Linked DNA regions of Homo sapiens: region 2 is linked to region 1. Evidence: promoter capture Hi-C in 16 types of primary human blood cells and fetal thymus (Javierre and others, 2016). All regions are on one chromosome and are shown on one strand. The core of a region is centred on a gene start or on the middle of the fragment in contact, and the rest is flanking DNA. Distances in the headings are between cores, read along the strand shown. Region 1 holds the start of GOLM2 (golgi membrane protein 2). Region 2 has its middle 4.9 kb from the start of TRH-GTG1-9.

Evidence for each region. Contacts are between HindIII fragments. The CHiCAGO score rates a contact against its expected background, and 5 or more counts as called.
Region 2: a contact is called between a fragment that was not itself captured here and the fragment with the promoter of GOLM2 in region 1, in 1 of 17 cell types (fetal thymus). The highest score is 5.2, in fetal thymus.

Annotation. Positions count from the first base shown.
Region 1 is chr15:44,287,215-44,293,253 of GRCh38, reverse strand. It overlaps GOLM2 (golgi membrane protein 2), which reads right to left and starts at 4,535. Exons shown (of 10, transcript NM_138423.4): 1 at 3,898-4,535. The coding sequence starts at 4,224. RefSeq lists a silencer at 4,259-4,618 and enhancers at 4,429-4,723, 5,119-5,188, 4,570-5,476. The HindIII fragment of the contact is 5,453 bases long and covers 1-5,230 here.
Region 2 is chr15:45,202,723-45,209,354 of GRCh38, reverse strand. No RefSeq gene overlaps it. Among named protein-coding and RNA genes, the nearest start is that of TRH-GTG1-9, 4.9 kb to the right of the region's middle. The HindIII fragment of the contact is 1,352 bases long and covers 4,505-5,856 here.

The DNA of each region.
Region 1 (6,039 bases), core at 3,286-5,785:
GCAATAATTTTCCAGATCTAAAACTGTTAAGTGGCCAGGTATGGTAGCTCACACCTGGCACTTTAGAAGGCCAAGGCAGGAGGATCACTTGTTTAGTTTTCCAGATCTAATTTTCCAATAATTTTCCAGATCTAAAACTGTTAAGTGGCCAAGTATGGTGGCTCACACCCAGCACTTTAGAAGGCCAAGGCAGGAGGATCACTTCAGGCCAGGAACTGGAGACCAGCCTGGACAAGATAATAAGACCCTCATCTCTACCAAAAAATAAAAAATTAGACCATCATGGTGGCATGCACCTATAGTCCCAGCTACTTGGGAGGCCGAGGTGGGAGGATCGCTTGAGCCCAGGAGTTTGAGGCTGTAGTAAACTATGATCGCACCACTGCTCTCCAGCCTGGGTGACAGAGCAAGACCCTGTCTCAAAACAAACAAACAACAATAACAATAAAAAAAACCCTGAAAAACTGTTAAGTTTAAAATACAGAGACCAAGACTACCCTTTCTACTAAGCAGCTCAGAGAGTCCTCATTAACCCCAAGAACAGACATTCACAAGCAGCCCAAGAAAGTTGTTATAGCCAGCTCAAAATACAGAAGTGGCACACCAAGTGCTGTGGCACACACCTAGAATCCCAGCACTTTGTGAGCCCAAGGCAAGATCACTTGGAGCCAGGAGTTTGAAAGCAGCCTGGGCAACATAGCAACACCCTATCTCTACAAAACTAAAAAAAGAAAAAACTTTTAAAAATATACAGAACTAGCCGGGTGCGGTGGCTCACGCCTGTAATCTCAGCACTTTGGGAGGCCAAGGCTGGTGGATCACGAGGTCAGGAGATCGAGACCATCTTGGCTAACATGGTGAAACCCCATCTCTACTAAAAATACAAAAAATTAGCCGGGCATGGAGGTGGGCGCCTGTAGTCCCAGCTACTCAGGAGGCTGAAGCAGAGAATGGCGTGAACCCAGGAGGCGGAGCTTGCAGTGAGCCGAGATCACACCACTGTACTCCAGCCTGCTTAACCGAGCGAGACTCTGTCTAAAAAAAAAAAAAAATATATATATATATATATGTATGTATACACATATACACACACAGAACTGACATTCAATAAGAGATACAGTCTTGTGAGCCAGCTGCATAAAATATTAGCCAAACACTTAAAAGTAGTTAAGATACCCAGGGCAATATTTCCCAAACTAGTGGGCTTTGCTATATTATTCTGTGCCATAATAGGTAGGCCATGAAAATAGTAACCTGTGATCAAATAAACTAAACAAGACTGAGTTAAACAAAATTGAATAGCCTTCTTTATTAATGGATTTCTCAGAGCTTTTATATTCCAGCAGGCATTATGAATTCCAAGAGGAGGATACACTAACATTTCCCTCCAAAAAAGGTTTTCATTTTTTTCTCCTCACCACCTAAGAAATATTACAAGAAGGGTATTCTGTTTAACACTACTTTGGGGAATACTGCTCTTATGGGAGAGCAAAGGCTCAATAACAGAGTCCCTTACTAGGTGACTGGAAAGAAAAAATAAATCCAGCAAAGAATATAGTGAAGAAGATAAGACTGGAGAGTCCAGTATAACAGAAGCAAGAAAGAAAATAGTTTCCAAATAGCTAGAGACAATCAACAGGATCAAACTACTGGGAGGTCAAATACAGTAAGAATAAAAATATTCTTTGGTTTTGACTAGGAAGACTGCCATTTGTGACCTTCAAGAGAATAGTTTCAAAAAAGGGGAGGAAAGAAAGATGGCAGACATTTTAAGATTAGGATGGTTATGAAAAAATAGGTAGATGGAACATTTGTAGACCATCAATAATTTGACTTTAGCAATGAAAGTGAAAAAACAAATGGGTTGGTTGGGAGAAAGGAATATACAGATTTTTTTTCCTTTACTGAGAACAGGGGACACCCACATACTGTTGAAGGTAAAAAGTGAAACAAACTGAAAGAGACAGTTCAGTAGAGCTGGGCAAGGTGGTGCACACCTGCAGTCCCAGCTACTCAGAGGCTGAAGCAGGAGGATCACTTGAGCTCAGGATTTCAATGCTATAGTGCATCATGCCTGTGTAACAGCTACTGCACTCCAGCCTGGGCAACACAATGAGACCCTGTCTCTTTAAAAAAAAAAAAAAAAAAAGAGGCTGGGCATGGTGGCTCACACCTGTAATCCCAGCACTTTGGGAGGCTGAGGCGGGCGGATCACCTGAGGTTGGTAGTTCAAGACCAGCCTGACCAACATTGAGAAACCCCTTCTCTACTAAAAATACAAAATTAGCCAGGCGTGGTGGTGCATGCCTGTAATCCCAGCTACTCAGGAGGCTGAAGCAGGAGAATTGCTTGAACCCCGGGGGGGCGGAGGTTGCAGTGAGCTGAGATCACGCCATTGCACTCCTGCCTGGGCAACAAAAACAAAACTCCGTCTCAAAAAACAACAACAACAACAACAACGACAACAACAAAAAGTCCAATGGATGAAAGAATGGAATCAAGAGTATTAATTACAACAAGAGACTTTCCTTTGAGACCAGAGAGAAGAATGTGAATTGTAATGCTCAACCATGCCAAGTAGGAAGACCTTACTTTAATACTCCAAACTTTCATGGATTTCTACCTACTCTGCCCGAGAGTTTTTCAGTCTTTAGAGTTAAGCATGCAGCGCACATATAAATGTACTGATTCCTTGACCCTATCATAGCATGTCTATGTTATGGTGAAGAGGAGGGGGTTATAGGGAAGCACTTAGCTGAGGGCCTTAATCTTCATGAAATAAGAAAGCCAGGTAGAGGCTGTCAACAGGAAAGTTAGAAGCTCACAGACAGTTTAATTCATAATGACTTACCCTTAAGTGATTTTGATATGCAAAGTAAAACTTGTAATTATAATGGGCATTTACACACAAAAATGTGAAGATTACCAAAGAAGTGTATAGAAAGGCATCTACTATCCTGCCCAGAAATTTTCATAACTCTACTATACCTACAGAAGTTGCTAAGTCATAAACTATTAATATAGTTACCAATGAGCTAATGAAAACAAGGATTATTTAGTAGCAAGTATGATTACAGTTCAATTTTAAACTTTTTATATTTAAAACTTTGTATAGTTTTCCATCTGCATAAAACACCAACCCTAATAGCAACTTAGCTATACAAAATTTCATTCTATTTTCTTTCAATGAAGACACTGACATGACATTCCACTGCTTAAAATTTATTTTCAGATTCTAATCTTTTGGCTGATTTCATTAACAATTCAAATTGAGTAGATAATGATGGATCAACTATGTCCAAGACACAAGTGTGTCTCACATATAGCTCGAGGGCCCATCTATCATAACATTTTGATCACAAAAAGGCAGTCATAGCTGATTATTTAGTTATTCAATACATCACCCTATAGAGATTTTAAAAGTCACACAGCTTAAAAAATATATGATGACTACCATAAGTAGAGGAGTCAGAGGCGGCTTCGTTCTTTAAATAACGAAATTAATATTGATCAGTGTGCACGGAATAAAAATGAGACAATAACCACACCAAACCTGGCAGTCGCCAGATTTGTGTGTCTTTGAAGGTAAGGGGGCCACACAGGCCAGATGATTACTACTGCCAACTCACCAGCTGAGCTTAGAGAATAGGCAGCATCTGCACACAGTCCACTCTTGAGAACCAGAATTTACAGTCATTTTTTTCTGGCAGGGACCAGAGAACGTGGCACTGATAAACTGGGAAAAGTCTGACAGAAACAGGGTTGTTGGGGGTGAAAGGAGCCTTCAGGACTGAAATACTGGAAGGCATAAGACAACAGCTAGCGGATTAACATCCCGCCCCAGACCCCGGGGAGAAAAGAAACCATGGGGTTTGAAGAGAAAAGGGTCGTCCTTACCTTGTCATCCTCGCATCTCTTCCCGAGGCCCTCTCTGGCCTGCAGCCGGCTGCTGAGGCGGCCGTAGTCGGCCTCCTTCTGGTCGATCTGTTTCTTGTGCGTGTCCACCAACAGCAAGAGGTCCGAATTGCGCTTTTCCAGCCGCCCGCGGGCCACTTCGGTGCGCTGGACCTGGCCCTGCAGCTCGGCCACCTCCTCCTGAAGCAGGACGTGGCGGGAGGAGATGCTCCAGTAGTTGAAGGCGAGGACGACGATCACCACCAGCAGCACCACCAGCACGAGAGAGGGCAGGCGGCCAGCCCGCCGGTTGGCCCCGAAACCCACCATGGGGCCAAATCGGGCTGTACCCTAGGGGCCTCGCCGCAGACACCTGCAGGCAGAAGCCCAGGCCTCGGCTGGAGTTGCCCGGCGGACACGGCCCCAGGGCCGGCCGAGGGAGGAGGCGGGCTTACCGGTCGGCTGCGAGCCGGAGAAGGGGGCGGGGCCGCAAGCCGCAGGTCCCTCCCCGCCCCCCTCCTCAAATCAGGCCAAAACGCGTTCCGGAGGCTTTGAACCCGACCCTGCACCTGCCCAAGGGAACCGGGAGAACCCAGCTGCCAGCGTCCCCCAAACCCAACACCTCACGGTTGGGAGGCGGGGAAAAAAACCGGAAAGGGGCGGATGTACCCTGGCCCCACCCACTAGCTGGGGCCGGGTCGTCTAGGGGACCATTTCCGAGTTTCCGTCGACACCCCTCTTGTCGCGAGAACGTTGCTTCCTCTCGTCTCTCTCTCTCTCTCTCTCTCTCTCTCTCTCTCTCTCTCTCTCTCTCTCTCTCTCTCGCTCTCTCGCTCTCTCGCTCTCTCGCTCTCTCGCTCTCTCTCGCTCGCTCTCTTTCTCTCTCTCTCTCTCTCTCTCTCTCTCTCTCTCTCTCTCTCTCTCGCTCTCTCTCTCTCTCGCTCGCTCGCTCTCTTTCTCTCTCCCCGCCCAGAGTTTTCTCTGTCGCGTAGGGTGTTGTGTTAATTTTGGCGGTCTCAGATGTCTCAGGTACCTGGGTCGGAGTCCTTTCTGTTGTTATCTACTGGATTCCCTTGATTCAAGGCCTAGGGAGTTCCTGCCCTACACTGGCCCTCGCGAAAATATTTGTCTTTGAGGACGTCTGGGGCTGCGACCGCGGAATAGAAAAAAATAGTAGGTGAGCTGCTGCCAAAAAGGAGCGACTAGAAAGGTTTTGTACTTGCTTCTGTAGAAGGGGAATTTCTCTTTTGTGCTAATGATGTGGAAAGAAAAAACAAAAAGACTGTAAAATAGCGATGCCCTAAACATAATGGAGAAAAGCGGGAGAAACCAAGCTTTAGGACTGAAAGGGGTGGTGCCAGTCTCGTTTCCTAGGTTACTGCTTTCACGAACCGAAAGAATTTCAGAATGTGGCGAGCTCCAATTTTTAAACGCACTGCTGCTTTTGCCTCAGCTGGGCTTCCAAACAGAAAGTCCAGAAGCTGCCCTCGATGAATCGTAACTAATGCACTGTTACTGCCAGCGAACACATTCCGGGTTAGAAATAATAGCTCTAACAAATTGTTTTGCGCGCCTAGTCTCATATTATCTTCTCAACAACGCAATTTTACAGATGAAGAATCCAAGACACATAGATGTTTGGGAACTTTCTCTTATCTGGTTTTAAATAGGCTTGAATCCAGATCATTGAACTCTAAACACCAGTGCTGTCTGCATATAGCAGATTGTTTATATGTTAAGTGTGAATTTCAGTAGTGCAAAAAAAAAAACAAAACCTGCCTCTTTTTTTTTTTTGCATAATTATTTTGTCCGTGCATAGAGAAATAAAAAGGTACTGGCTCTAACCTGTTTAAGGAGAGGATGGGGTTGCCTTATTTTTCAGACCTCAGGTTGAAGAACTTCCATGAGTATAAAACCTCAAGAAGGAAAAACCTTGGTATTTTTTATTCGAATCAGAGTGATATGATTTTGAGGCAGGAAGACTTGTCATCTTAATTATTCTGTGCTTCCTATCCTCAAAAATTATTTCCCTAAGTCCCGTAGTAGCGTAGAATTATTGCATCTTCAAAGAACAATGATTACTCTCTCAGATGCAGTACAGAAAACCACCACCAAAATTATTAATACTTGGTTCACATCAGAAGT
Region 2 (6,632 bases), core at 3,931-6,430, 920 kb before region 1:
GATTCTCCTGCCTCAGCTTCCCGAGTAGCTGGGATTACAGGTGCGCACCACCACACCTGGCTAATTTTTGGGGTTTGTTTGTTTGTTTTTTGGTTTTTTTTTTGAGACAGAGTCTCACTCTGTCACCCAGGCTGGAGTGCAGTGGCACGATCTCGGCTCACTGCAAGCTCCGCCTCCCGGGTTCACACCATTCTACTGCCTCAGCCTCCCGAGTAGCTGGGACTACAGGCGCCCGCCACCACGCCTGGCTAATTTTTTTGTATTTTTAGTAGAGATGGGGTTTCACCACATTAGCCAGGATGGTCTCGATCTCCTGACCTTATGATCCACCCGCCTCAGCTGGGATTACAGGCATGAAACACCGTGGCCAGTATGACTGAAATTTAGAAGAAAGTTTGGAAATAAAAGAAATTCAAGTCAGATTGTTGCAATTTTTGTATGTATCTTTCCCTTTTAACTTAAAATTACATTTGAAATTTGCACATTGTACCATCATGTCAAATGCTCAATGCTAACAATATCAGTATAACATGGATACGTCTCTTTTCATGCTGTTTTGGCTACCCTGACTCTAGAAAACATTATACACTTGATATTAGATCTTCCTCTTTTGATCTGAGAGACCAAAATGGATGCACCATTATCAAGTAAGACAGACTCAAAGCTTAAGGAAAGTAACTTACCTATGGGTCCAAGGTGCCGGCTGGCATAGCAAATTGCTAAATTCCTATGGCTAAGGTCTCTAATAATAGGAGCTATGAGCTCTGATTTACAACCCAGACCCCAAGTCTGATTAGACAGAGGACCAGCCTTACAAATATTCTTTTCTCAGAAGCTATTGCAGACCTTAAGCCAGTTTCAGACAGCTTATAGAGGCTGTGCACAAATTGCCTTGGTGTCCTATAGTTCATCTTTTGATGTGGAGCCAATTCCACCTCATTTCAATGCCAAAATCCTACCCCAAAGTGAACGTGGCATGTATGTTACATACATGTTTACCCATTGCCCATACATAGAGTTCCCTCATAAATATGTATAGCTTTTCCCCAAATCTGCTGAATGTGTATGACACAAGCTCTGTGAAGCATAAAACCCAACGTGTCCTTCCCCTCCTTGAAGAAAGAGCAGGCCAGGTGAGGTGGCTCACACCTGTAATCCCAGCCCACTGGGAGGCCGAGGTGGGTGGATCACTTGAGCACAGGAGTTCAAGACCAGACTGGGCAACATGGTGAAACCCTGTCTCTACAAAAAATACAAAAATTAGTTGAGTGTGGTGGTGTGTGCATGTGGTCCCAGCTACTTGGGAGGCTGTGATGGGAGGATGGCTTGAGACCAGGAATTCAAGGCTGCAGTGAGCTATGATCACACCACTGCACTCCAGCCTGGGTGACAGAATGAAATACTGTCTCAAAAAAAAAAAAAAAAAAAAAGAAGAAGAAGAAGAAAGAGCACCATTGGTCCACGTTGGAGACTTTCTCTTCCCAGCTGCAAACTGATATCACCAATATAGCTCTCCTTTCTACCATCTAGCCATCTTGGTGATCTTCTGGATGACACACTCAAGCCTCATATCCATTTTTTTTTATCCAACATGTTCATCCCCTCTACCTCCATGCTAAAGAGAAAACATCTATAGGTGTGATTTGAGGGAAGAGTCCCTCGTTCATCCCTAGATGAGTATTAGTCCCCGAGCTCCAACATCAACTACTAGTCCAGGGAGCAGAAATTCTCTTCTGTCTCTCCTGAATGAAGACTTTTATCAGGATATAATTATCCATTTACACCTAACCTTTCTAAAACACAGATATGACTATGTCTCTCTTCTGCTTAAAAATGGGAACTTAAATGCCCCTCTCCCCTCAATGCCTGACACAAAGCCTATGGACAGCCTTCAGGAAATTTGTGAATTCCTGATATTTTATCATAGGTGTATTACTTTGGAGAACAAGGCTGTGGCTGTCAATGGATCCCCAAAGCAATGTTACCACAAAATGTGAAGAAACACCAGCCTCCAGGAAAAAGGCCTGACTCAAGTAAGAGATTCATCAAAATTTGGCTCCAGCCTCTCACCCTCCACTCTCTCCTCCATATCTTTGTTGTTTCTTTGTTTGTTTGTTTTAGGGGGAATTACAGGCATGTGCCATTGCACCCATCTAATTTTTGTATTTTTAGTAGAGATGGGGTTTCACCATGTTGGCCAGGCTAGTCTCGAACTCCTGGCCTCAAGTGATCCGCCCTCCCCGGCCTCCCTCCCCTCCATATCTAATGTTGTAGCTACAACTTGTCTTTTCCTATGCTATCTGTGCATCATACTTCCTTGCTTTTACTTATGCCTTTCTCTTTGCCTAGAATACCCTTTCCTTTTTATCTTTTTTGAGACAGAGTCTCATTCTCTCACCCAGGCTGGAGTGCAGTGGAGCAATCTCGGCTCACTACAACCTCCGCCTCTCAGCCTTAAGTGATTCTCCTGCCTCAGCCTCCCAAGTAGAATATCCTTTCCCTTTCTTTTCCAGGAAAAGTACTATGCATGCCTTGGAACTCAGATCAAATGTTGTATCCTGGTAGAATCAACGATCTAAGCTCCAACACACTTTGTATATATGTCTGGCATAGTTCTAATTAGTTCTTCACTCATCTGATTAACCCCGAACTAAAATGATCTCAGAGTAAGAATGGGTCTTATTTAATTCATATCTCCAAGGCCTAGCACAGATCATACTAGGCACTACTGGTTATTGGGCAGGAGGATAGGTGTCAGCATGGACCATTGCCCAACAGAACAGGAACACATCTCCCTCTGAGCATGCCTCCTCAGACCCCCTACTCACCCAGGACCATTTCTGCTCAGCCTGATGCTTTGGCTCTCTGAACTCTGTAGTGAGCTTTGTATTTGCAGATTTTTCTGACCAGTAACTCAAAACTAATTTTGGAGACCAACATTGCCAATTTAAAACGTTTCCAAGAAAAGATGTTTTTTAAAACCTATCACTGGCTGGGTACAGTGGCTCATGCCTGTAATCTCAACACTTTGGGAGGCCGAGGCAGGTGGATTACCTGAGGTCAGGAGTTCAAGACTAACCTGGCCAACAAGGTGAAACCCCGTCCCTACTAAAAATACAAAAATGAGCTGGGTGTGGCGGCACATGCCTGTAATCCCAGCTACTCAGGAGGCTGAGGCAGGAGAATCGCTTGAACCTGGGAGGCAGAGGTTGCAGTGAGCCAAGAGCAAGACTCCGTCTAAAAAACAAACAAACAAAAACAAAAACAAACAAAAAAACACCTATCACCTACTTTCTCCATAGTTTTATAAAAGTCACTTTAATACCTCAAAAATAAAAAGGTCATTGTCTCAGCCTAGAGGACAGTCCTTTGGATTAAATGCATTTAGCATTTTAAAAGCTTACCACATTGACCTCATTTTTTCATTCAGTGGTGAAAAGTTTGTCCTAGTTTATCAGTTCTAAAAAGTTTGGAAACCACTGATTTAGACCTTTGCTTCTGCAAGGCAGCTCCTGCATTCTTCCTGACTCAGGAATTAGTTTCAGGTCTCATGCCAGGAATAAAGTCCTGCACCATCTTTCCCTACAGTTTCTTTTTGTGGATATGGAGAGAAGTACCTAGAAACAAGAGACCGACTACAGCATATTGAACAGTCTATGCTGGTCACTTGACTTTGGATGAGGGGCAAATCTCAGTTGACAAACTCAGCTCAAAAATAAACTACTCTAGGCAAGAAGTATCTTATACAGCTTTGCAGCCCCCAATGACTTAAGAACTAAGAGATGCTAGTTTATGGGAAGAATGAAGAATGAATGAATGAATGAATGAGTGGATGGATGGATGGATGGATGGATGGATGGATGGATGGATGAATGGATAGATAAGTAGATGGATGAAATCTGAGTCCTCATTACCCAGAGAATCCCTGTGGAACAGGCTCAGTTAAGTCAGAAGTGGTATGTTGCAAATTAAATGAGTCTTTTCCAGCCTCAGCTTTTCACTACTACTTCCTGGGGCACAGCGCCTTCTAGTGGAAATCCAGATGTGCTGCCTCCTCCCTAGACGGCCCTAAACATGGGCCCTTTGATGACTCCCTCCCAGATCACCATCTCCTCACTGTGAAAACCTCAATGACATCCCCATTGATGAGGCTCAGTAGATTCAGGCAGGTCCCTTCTAGTAACCCAAGTACTCACAAGATGAACAATGAAGGATTCCATTAGAGCTTTAGGCTAGAGCAGCACTTCTCAAACTTTCCTGTGCAGATGAATCACTTGGAGAGGACCTTGTGGAAAACCGAAGATTTTCACTGGGTAATTCTGAGTTGTGGATCAAGATTCTGAATTTTGGACAAGCCTTCCAGGACCAGAGCCTGCTGGTCCAGTGGCAGCTGCTCAACACTGCGCCCCTGTGGGGGTTGGCAGCTCCCAGATATACGAGGTATAACCAGGGAGTATAACCAGGAAGCTGTGGGGTTGATGGTTTAAGCAGACAATCTGAAGCTTATAAATTACTGTTGTCCCTTTCAAGGTTTGCCCTTTGAAGTCTACACACTCCTACCAAAAAAAAAAAATTGTTTTTCTTTTGCTGGAATGTTATTTATAAAACATTTCTGGCATTGTCATTGAAATTTTTGTGCCTTAAAAGACTCAGTGGTGACATTTTTCTCTTTGAAGGTAGCTTTAAAAGCAGTCAAAAGTTATTTCAAAATAGAATGTGATTATAAATATTGAGGTGGATGTACTCATATGGCTTATAAATTAGCCCTGAAAATAATCTCCAAATAAGAATTCCAAAAATATTTTGGGCAGCTGTTTGGAGAAAGTGGAATGCCTGATTTGAAACACAATACTCATTTGGATGTTTATGTTCCAGGGTGTTCATTTTTAAGGAGTTGATTTCATTATGTTATATTCCCATCTACTATATTATTTAAGTAAAACTTCAGTAGGGCTTTGTAAGTGCCAGGCACTATTGCTTTACAAATATTCATTCATTTAATCTTCATAACAATCCTTTTACAGATGAGAAGTCATTCTACAATCATTTTACAGGTGAGAAAACTGAGGCATGGAGACATGTTGCTTCCCCAGGGTCACCTAGTTAGTAAATGGATGAGTTGAGATTCAAATCTTAAACAGCCTACTTTCAGGTGTCAGAGGCTTCATTACTAAGCTATGCTAGCTCCCCCAACAGAGACGAGGTCTCATTATACTGTCTAGTCTGGTCTTGAACTCCTGGGCTCAAGCAATCCTCCCACCTTAGTCTCCCAAAGTGCTGGGATTACAGGCGTGAGCCACCATCCCCAACTTATGCTACCCCTTAATTAGAGTTAGGACTAGTCTAGTACTATCAACTACTGTACCTCAGGGTCTATCAGATGGAAGGGAAAAAAATTCAAAGTGACTTAGAGGTTGGAAACCTGCAGAAATTAACAAATCCAACCAAGATGGGAACAACTGGAGCTGGAATGTGTGAACAGGGTGCTCTTAAGTATAAGCACCCTACCTCTTTCCTGGCACTGAGACCTAGAGAAGAGTTCCAACCTCAAGCTGGAAGTGATAGGAGGAAATATTACATTCCCAGAATCAGAAATCATAAAACAATTTTAAAAGCAAGGGACCAACAGGAAGGGGGTGCTGACTGATTGCTCAGAGAGGGTGTCCCAGGGCAGCGGGGTCTTGATGAGGTCATTCCAGGCCAGGGTCTCCAGGAGCAGGGCTTTGCCAGCCCTGACATTCCATTTTGTCAGTGTACCTAGAGATAAGTAGGCACAAGGGAAATGAATTATGCTAACCAGACTCTTATGAGTCTAAACCAAAACACCCACAGTTAGGAGAACAGTGCCAATAAGCTTGTTCAAAGCATGCTTTTTCCTGTAGGGAAGTCTAATGGGCAAATCATTATCAAAGTCTGTTTTGTAAGGAAAATTGACTGAGTGACCTCAGAAGAGGATGTTATGAAATGTTGAGAGCTGGATGCGCCCATCTCATGGACTACCGTGTAGCTGCCAAAAAGGCAGCCCTCCCCTCGTGTCACTCTTCCTGCAACTAGGTCACAATACAACACTTTCAGTTCAGCTTTCTTTAGCATTCCTGACCTCAGACATGGATGGCTAGTGGGTTATCTCAGATGGTGAATGTTTGTGATTTTTGTTTTATTGGTTGACGCTTTTTTTTTTTTTTGAGACAGGGTCTTGTTCTGTTGCCCAGGCTGGAGTTCAGTGGCATGATCACGGCTCACTGCAATCTCCCCCTCCCAGGCTCAAGCAATTCTCCCACTTCAGCCTCCTGAATAGCTGGGACTACAGGTACACACCGCCACACCTGGCTAATTTTTGTATTTTTTATAGAGAGAGCTTCTCACCATGTTGTCTAGGCTGGTCTCAAACCCCGGAGCTCAAGCAATCCTCCCACCTCAGCCTCCCAAAATGCTGGGATTACAGGCATGAACCACCATGCCCAGCCTCTTGGTTGACACTTTTTCCTTGTAGTACTCTTAGAGAGTGGCTACTCCTAACTTTCTCCTCAGGGTGTGGGAGCAGCTCATTGCCTACTGAAGCACCTGCAGCAGGGCAGTGGGGGCTGGTCTTCAGGGGAAAAGCCAGAGCCTTTCCTGGCATCCCACCCTGA